Linked DNA regions of Homo sapiens: regions 1 and 2 are each linked to region 3. Evidence: promoter capture Hi-C in human tissues and cell types (Jung and others, 2019). All regions are on one chromosome and are shown on one strand. The core of a region is centred on a gene start or on the middle of the fragment in contact, and the rest is flanking DNA. Distances in the headings are between cores, read along the strand shown. Region 1 overlaps RGS3 (regulator of G protein signaling 3). Region 2 overlaps C9orf43 (chromosome 9 open reading frame 43). Region 3 holds the start of SLC31A2 (solute carrier family 31 member 2).

Evidence for each region. Contacts are between HindIII fragments. The study calls those that stand out against the background at their distance.
Region 1: a fragment that was not itself captured here is called in contact with the fragment with the promoter of SLC31A2 in region 3 in 1 of the 25 tissues and cell types used here (aorta).
Region 2: a fragment that was not itself captured here is called in contact with the fragment with the promoter of SLC31A2 in region 3 in 1 of the 25 tissues and cell types used here (liver).

Annotation. Positions count from the first base shown.
Region 1 is chr9:113,571,788-113,574,487 of GRCh38, reverse strand. All of the region lies in intron 17 of RGS3 (regulator of G protein signaling 3), which reads right to left. Among named protein-coding and RNA genes, the nearest start is that of RGS3, 110 kb to the right of the region's middle. The HindIII fragment of the contact is 5,501 bases long and covers 1-2,700 here.
Region 2 is chr9:113,428,691-113,431,390 of GRCh38, reverse strand. It overlaps C9orf43 (chromosome 9 open reading frame 43), which reads right to left. Exons shown (of 14, transcript NM_001278629.2): 13 at 2,428-2,491; 14 at 1,701-2,219. The coding sequence ends at 2,005. Among named protein-coding and RNA genes, the nearest start is that of C9orf43, 19 kb to the right of the region's middle. The HindIII fragment of the contact is 8,820 bases long and covers 1-2,700 here.
Region 3 is chr9:113,149,757-113,152,481 of GRCh38, reverse strand. SLC31A2 (solute carrier family 31 member 2) reads right to left here and starts at 1,475. Exons shown (of 4, transcript NM_001860.3): 1 at 1,402-1,475. The coding sequence starts at 1,407. The HindIII fragment of the contact is 13,784 bases long and covers 1-2,725 here.

The DNA.
Region 1 (2,700 bases), core at 20-2,519, 420 kb before region 3:
TGGCTATTGCTGCCAAACAGCAACAAGCCATGTTCTCTGCCTTGGAGATGCCAGGTCCATCTCTCACCCACCTGCTACCATGCTAGGAGGCTGTGGAAGTAGAGGCAGCAGGGACAACTAGGATGGCTCTGGGAGGAGGTAATAGGGGGGAAAAGATGGGACAGGATATTCCAGGCTGAGCCAGAGCCAGCAGGGAACATTCAAGGAAGTGGAGGTGGTTGGATGAGGCAGGAGCATGGATATTTTAAGGAATTCCAACGTTACCCTGAAAGCAATGTTTACTTAGCGCTGCAGAGGTAAGGAAGGTGAAGCTAGAGGTGTTCAAAACAGATAATGATGACAAAGATAGGGGAGAGAGAGAGATCATTAACTGAGCATCTACTGCATGCCACACACTGTGACAGTTGTTTTATACTTTAGGCTCTACTTCCAACAATCCTATGAGATCAGTATCATTTTTAATAAGAAAACTAGGAGTTAGAGACATTAAGTAACTTACACAAGATCAAAAAGCAAGTCAGTGGAAGAGTCAGAATTGAAACCATGGTCTGCCTGACTCCAAAGCCCTGCTCTTTCTACTCCTCTGTGATCTCCTTTCCTGCCGTCTTCACTTCCTCCTTCCCTTCCTTCAAAGGATGCTTCCTGAGGACAAACCTGGGCCTGGCTCTGTGCTAGGCAGTGGAGAGCAATACCAGACGCAGGGGCCCCGCTCGGACTCCACATGGTTGGAGACTGAGGGGCAGGAGACTGACACCTGGTGTTGGGAGGGGCAGTGCAGAATTCTGTACACCCAGTGACCCTCCCAAATCCTCTCCCTCCCAGGGTCCCCTTCCAGGTGGGGAGAGCTAGAAGCGTGTGGCTTCTCTGTGATGTTTTCTGCTAGGTTAATCAAAGAAGCTCTGCCATGCCAGGATGACCTCAGGGAAGGACACAAATAGCACTGCAGTCATGAGGTCAGCCTTTGGAAGCAGGAGGGCCTGGGGGTGAATCCCAATTCCTATCCATGTGCCGCCTCCCTCACAGCCAGTGTGCCGCTTCCTCACGGCTGCTACGGGGCATATGGAGGCAGTGCCTGGCACACAGTAGCCCATGGTGGTGCCCCTCTGCTCCTTGCCTTCCTCTCCACAGCTTGACTCTCTCATGAGTGGGCACCAGGGACCAACCCAAAAACTAAGGTTTTACTCCAAGCAACAGCTCTGAGAATAGGGAGGACTGAAAGCCAGAGGTGGAAGGAGGGAAGCCTATTGCTGATGAACAACTGGGGCTTGGAGATAGGCAAATCAAGCTTCAAACCCTGGCTCTGCCACCTCCTACGTCAAGGTACCTGCACAGGCTGCTTAACCTATTCAGGCTCGATTTCCTCATCTGTAAAATGGCAATGTGAATACTGAGTACCCACATCACAGCTCTGTGGGGAGGGCTTAGCATAGGGCCTGGCACCTAGTAAGTGCTCAATAAGCATCTGCAATTTCTGTAATCATAATTGTTACTCTCATGACGATCATCGACATCATCAGCTCCCTCTCCTGCATCCAATTCCGGGACAGGGCACTTGACGTATTCTGACCCTTACAGCAGCCTAGGACAGGAGTCCTGTTAGTTGCAGGTTTCAGGGGGGGAAACTTGGAAGCTGAGAAGGCAGATGAGTCTGTGCTCAGCCTGCCCCTAGGCTGGGTCAGTCTGGCTCACTGCATGGCCTGGGCCAAATCACTCCCCTCACTGGGTCTTGCTCTTCCCAGCATGTCTGTCCAGTTCTGAATCTCAGCTAGCCTAGAAAGATCAGAGTTCAGGGCCCAAGGCATAGCCAGGTCTCCTTGTGGGGGCATCAAGGGCAGGAGGAACAGAAAGGTCCCCCTTTCCAGATACACACCCTTGCCTTATCTGTCTGCCCCAGTCTGCCCCACTGCCCTCCTCCTTCAGGGCCTGCAGCGCTGGGGGCACTGGGTGGTGGTGGGGTGCCCATCCAGTAAAAAAAAGAGGCTTTTTCACTCGAGGACACTGGAGTGGACATGTGGACATGAGACTAAGCCACAACCCTGTGGCCGAAGGTCACCCTCCCGAGCCTCAGGCACACTCAGCCTCACCGCTGCCTCCTGAGGCAGGCACACCCTATCTCTGCTTGGGGGTGATGTCAGGGCTAGGTTTGGCTGAATTTACAGTCTTCTCCAAACCCACCCTCCTGCCTCCCTCTGTCATGAGACTTTCTCTTATCTCCCTTGGCCCTGCACCAACTTGCCTATATTGGTCTCCTGCTCAAAATGCCTTCATCCCTCTAGGATAAAGTCCCATCCTCTAACCCTGTGTGTTCTGCCCCCGCCAACCTCTCCACCACACCGTTTCTCCTCTTTTCCCTCCAGCCAGTCTGCTACACTCTACCCTCAGGCCCCTCTAAACCTATGCTCACACTGTACGTCCTGCCTAGAGCACCTTCCCCTCCCCTGTCCACCTGCTGAAGCTCTACTCATTCTTCAAAATTCAAGTGACCCACCCACGTATTGCCCCTCAATTTCTGACAAAGGTGACATTGCCCTATAGTGAGACAGGATGGATTTTGAATACATTGAATATTTATCCAGAGAAAATGAGTCTTGACCTCTACTTCATACATGGATAAAAATCTATTTCAAGTGGATTTTAGATCTAAATATGAAACATAAAACATCTAAAAGAATACATAAAAGTATATGTCCATAACCTTGT
Region 2 (2,700 bases), core at 201-2,700, 280 kb before region 3:
GTTTCTGGAGAATGAGGTGAGAGAACAGCAGACTGGAATAATGAAAAGAGCTCTGACCTAGCACTAGGAGACCCAGATTCCAGCTTAGCCCCACTTCCCAGCTCATGAGCTCAGTCAAGACAAATCCCCTCTCTGAGCCTTGCTATCCTTACCTTTAAAATGGGACTGCAAATTAATGATCTCTACATTGTGGGGTTAAATTCTTCCTCCTTAAAATTTGTCCCAAATGATGGCTCTGGACAGTCCTAATGTTTTGCAGGACTCAGGATAAGTGTACAAAAACAGGTCTACTAACCATGTCTGAACATTTAAAAACTATAAATTAAGCTAACAAATTGTTAAATAAAACATGTTCTAACTTGCTACCTTGACCAGTATACCTTCATGATCTAGAAAGCCAGGTTCATTCAAAATCCACAGATTCCTTGAGGTTCCACACTAACATGCAGCACTAGAAGAACCAGCCCTCACTTCTCATCCCCATGATCCCATCCTTACTGGGAAAGGCAACAAATGCTGATACCCCAGTCTATCTGTCCAAGCTCTGGGCACATCCCTCTCCAAATACCCTCCTCTTACCCCCTTGAACCCAGCAGCACACACACTGGTGGGATAGTCCACTCTTGGGAGATGGACCCACAAAAGAGGCCTGCAGAAGCCATGGAAGTAGGCAAGAGGCCACTGGGCAGGGAATTCCAGGGTTCCAAATACCAGGAACAAAGTCTAAAAGGGGAGTCACAGACTCCAGCTAGGTGTACGTCCACTTGGCTCTGCAGATTTCTCTGCCGTGAGGGGCAGCACAGCCAGAACACCAGAGGACTTTCTAAAGCACGGGGCCAAGGGCCTTCCTTGCCCAGATCTAAGATACTGAATACATCAAAGTTTCATTATATTATTCTCTTTCCTTTTACGTAATTTTGAAATTTTTACATTATATCTTTTTAAGGACTAAAACATGAAAAAAAAAAAACCTCCAAAACCAAGTTAGAAGTTCTCTCAGACTCTGAAATTCTGAGCCTTTATGAGCATCACTGAAACTTTCCTGTGCAGACTCAGTTCCTTAGAAACTAGAGCTTTTTGCCGGGTGCGGTGGCTCACACCTGCAATCACGGCACTTTGGGAGGCTGAAGTGGGTGGCTCACCTGAGGTCAGGAGTTCGAGACCAGCCTGACCAACATGGAGAAACCCCCATCTCTACTAAAAATACAAAATTAGCCAGGCATGGTGGCGTATGCCTGTAATCCCAGCTACTCGGGAGGCTGAGGCAGGAGAATCGCTTGAACCCAGGAGGCGGAGGTTGCGGTGAGCCGAGATCATGCCATTGCACTCCAGCCTGGGCAACAAGAACAAAACTCCATCTCAAAAAAAAAAAGAAAGAAACTAGAGCTTTTGGCTGGGCACAGTGGTTCATGCCTGTAATCCCAGCACTTTGGGAGGCTGAGGAGGGAGGACTGCTTGAGCCTAGGAGCTTAAGACCAGCGACACAATGAACATTATTTGATAACAATGTAGATCCCATCTCCAAAAGAAACCATTTCTAGGGAATGAGAGGAAAATCTAGGGAGCATCATGGCAGCTCCCATGAGCCAAATTCAGCCTCCTACAACTGGAAACCTTTCAGAACTTCAGAGATAAGAGTGACCCAGAAAACAGATACCAAGAAACATCTTTCCCTTCCTCCTAGAAACAGAAAATAAGTCTTTTGATTGAAAAGCAGTTGTGTTTAATCACCAAAATTATTCTGACCCTAATGGAAAGGAAATAATCTAAATTTAAAAAGGCTGGGGATTTTTCTCCTACATTTATTTTAGAGGCAAGTAGAGGTGAACAAAGAAAATGGAATCCCTAAGCTCAGAGCTCAGGCCCTGGTAAAGGCTCCAGAGAGCAGAAGCCCCTCTCCTCTTGCCCTTATGTGAAACGTTGCTGCCCTCAGGATACCAGCCATCCCGCTTTGGAACACGGCTGCCCCAGGGGATGCCTTCAGTCTATTCCTCCAGAGGCTTCTCACTCTGCCCCAGAGGACTGGTCCTCCTCATCCTCATCATCAGTGTCCTGAAGAATCCTAAGTAGTTTGAGCTCAGAGTTCCAGCCTGTGCTAGCCATAATTTCTGAAAAGTTAAAGGAGATCTTCTTTTGCCTGGCAGCCTGGGCTTCTGGCACAGCGTCCACTGGAGCACTAATGTCCTTGTTAGTGGGTTCTGTTTCATACAATTCAGGACCTAAAAGAAGATGCAGTCATTAATTGCACCTGTAAACTCCTCTCAACTACAACAAATGGAGGACAGAAAAGGAAAAATGGGGTGTTTTTAGGACTTCTCTGAGATAGAGGAACTGTGCCTTCAGGGAGGTAAACTATCCTGGTCAACACAGGTTCAACTCTCCCTATCCTCAGTCACTTACTAAGGTTCCTCTACTCTAGTAACTTACTTTTTACACTGTGGTGGAAATCCGCATGGTCATAGTAGTTCATCTTTGGTCTCTCCGTGGAATCCTGAAATTCATTGGGGTATAAGGAAATTTGAATCAAGACTTTAGGAAACTAAAAGGATTTTTCTAAAAGATGCTTCTCTTGGAGAAATTAACATCTAAGATGAGCCAGAGACCCACCTCTTGGGACTGAAGAGAAGCTTTTACCACACGTTCTTTGCCCTCCATGCTGTCCAAATGAACCTAGAACCACTCCTTCCCATTCCCTGCAGT
Region 3 (2,725 bases), core at 226-2,725:
TATGGTTTGTTCAGAGCTGGAAACACCCACGGAGTCCGAAGCCCCAGAGGGACGAAGACTCACCTGTCACTCAACCCTTTCTACTTTTGCCTTTTTGCTAGAGGAAAAGATGGAAGTCAGCACACCCTGACTTGAGAGAAGCGATCTGGGCTACAGTTTTCAATTAAAGGGCTTTGTGGTCAGATAGGCAAGGGGCAGGGCCCCAATCTTGTTTTCCTACTTGGGATGAATCTTGGCCTCTGAAAGTTTAACTGATTTGTGCTTTTTTCAGGGTGGGGCTGTGGTGAAGGAGGGAGCAATCCCTGGAACTTGTTTTCTTCTATATTTCTTCATTTGGGGTTACTTACACTTTGAGAAAAGCTTCCTTATTTGTAAACAAGGGTTGGGAAGGAGATGAAGGTCCCAGTTGCTAGGCTGACTGGCTGGGGAACTTTTGCAAGTGCTTTCCATCTATTTCCCTTTTTAAAGGACGGCTGATCATTTCACTAAATGGCCTACATACACTTCCTATATCTTTTTTTTTTTGTTTTGTTTGTTTGAGGACGTCTTGTTCTGTTGCCCAGGCCGAAGGTCATGGCTCACTGCAGCCTGGAACTTCTGGGCTCAAGCAATCCTCCTCATCCTGCCTCAGCCTCCGAGTAGCTGGGATTACAGGCGCCTGCCACCACTTGTGGCTAATTTTTGTAGAGACGGGGTCTAGCTATGTTGCCCAGGCTGAGCTTCCTGTATCTTAAATTCTATGACATTCTTCATGGGATGAAGAAAATGATATGACTTCTTCAAAGACGAACGAGTCTTGCAAGCTGTCGTTCTCTCCAGCCCAGGTGAACCCTACCAAGAAAAACAGCTTGTCTGAAACGCTGTTTTCTGACTGAAAGTGTAGGGAAGCTGGAAAGTAGCTGGTTCTGTTTTATTCCCCGAAGAATCAGGCTACAAACTTGACAAGAGCAGGGCCGGGGATGTGCGCTCGGTGTGCGCGCGGGGCTGCGGGCTGAAATGCGCCGGGGGTTTCCCTTTCGTGGAAGCCTTCCTGGAATCTCCCAAGGCGCTGCTCTCCGCCCTGGGGCGCCGGCCAGAGGTCCGGGGCCGGGGGCCCCGGACCCAGCTGTCTTCAGCCACCGCGCCCCCACTCTCAAGCCGCGCCACCGCGGGCGCTCGGTAACTGCTCGCCTAGCCGGACTGCCTCCCAGCAGGAGGGACAAATAAAGAGGAAAACCACAGAGCCACCGCAACCTATACCTGCCGCGTCCCCCAACCCTGTTCCAGCTGTTGGCAATGCTGCCAACACACCCTTCACCAGCCCCGGGCCAGCGGCAGCGAGGATTCGGGGTGCCGAGATGGCAGCTCCAGGAGACCCCGCCCCAACCGCCCACCCTCTTCACCGTAGCGCCCGGCCCTTACCGCCATGGTGAGTGCGCAGGGCGGGCGCCAGGGCCGCGTCTGCTCGCTCGGGTCTCCTCGCTCCGAGTCAGTTCAACCGCCGCCGCCGCCGCCGCCGCGATAGCTACCCTGGCCGCACGGATCACGTGGTCCGGGCGAGGCGGCGCGCGGGCGCCTGGGAGTTGTGGTCCCCACACGCGCCCTACTTCGGCGTCCTCGGGCGCGCCCCCTGGCCGAGACCCAGGCGCCTCGCCCCAGGTTCCCAAGGGCTGAGGCTTGGCGTTCCCGGAGTCGCGAGCGAGAGGGACCACCTGCTGCCCTCTGTCTTCGCCCTTCCTGTTTTGCACTTGGCTTGTCTTGGCGATTATGAGAATGTTTATTGCTCATTGTAATAAACTACCCCAAGCGTAACATATATTGAGTTGAAATGGGCAAGTCCGTGCTATGGACGCAATAGCAACACATTTGGAGTAAATTAAGTCAATTATGCCCTAGATTTTTAGTGTAGTCATTACAAGATAATTACATTTTTCTTTTTAGAAAAATATTTTCCAATCTGATAAGCCAAAAGGAATACACCCGTGTAATTTTGTTTTTCTTTGATTACTAGGGTAGTAAACTATTTTTCTTACGGGTACTTCCATTTCTGTGTATTGCCTGTTCATTTCACTGATCCAGTTTTTTGATGGGGAGTTTCTTGTAGGGTGAGGGATTTTTAATGGTTATTGATTCTTAAGCATATTTAGGAACCCTTTGCTAATCAGCCTATGAGTAAAGAGGCTCTTCAGAGAAACCTTACTAAGGACAGTATTAGCAGAGACCTTGAGCCTGGAGCTAACCTCAGTTCACATCCATACGCATCAACTATTGGCTTTGGGACCGTAGGCAAATAGCTTACATCTCTGAACCTCAGTTTTCTGGTCAGTAAAATGAAAATAATAATAAAATCTATGTCATAGGGATTAAATGAAAACATACATGTTAAATTATCATGTAACCTGGCAGTGGGAGCTTGTTCAGTAAATGGTAGAATCCTCAGGGTCACACAGCTTTTTTTCTTTTCTTTGAAACAGAGTCTCGCTCTGTCGCCCAGGCTGTAGTGCAGTGGCGCGATCTTGGCTCACTGCAACCTCCATCTCCCGTGTTCAAGCAATTCTCCTGCCTCAGGCTCCCGAGTAGCTGGGACTACAGGCGCGCACCACCATGCCTGGTTAATTTTTGTATTGTTAGTAGAGACGGGGTTTCACCATATTGGTCAGGCTGGTCTTGAAATCCTGACCTCGTAATCTGCCCGCCTCGGCCTCCCAAAGTGCTGGGATGCTGGGATTACAGACGTGAGCCATCT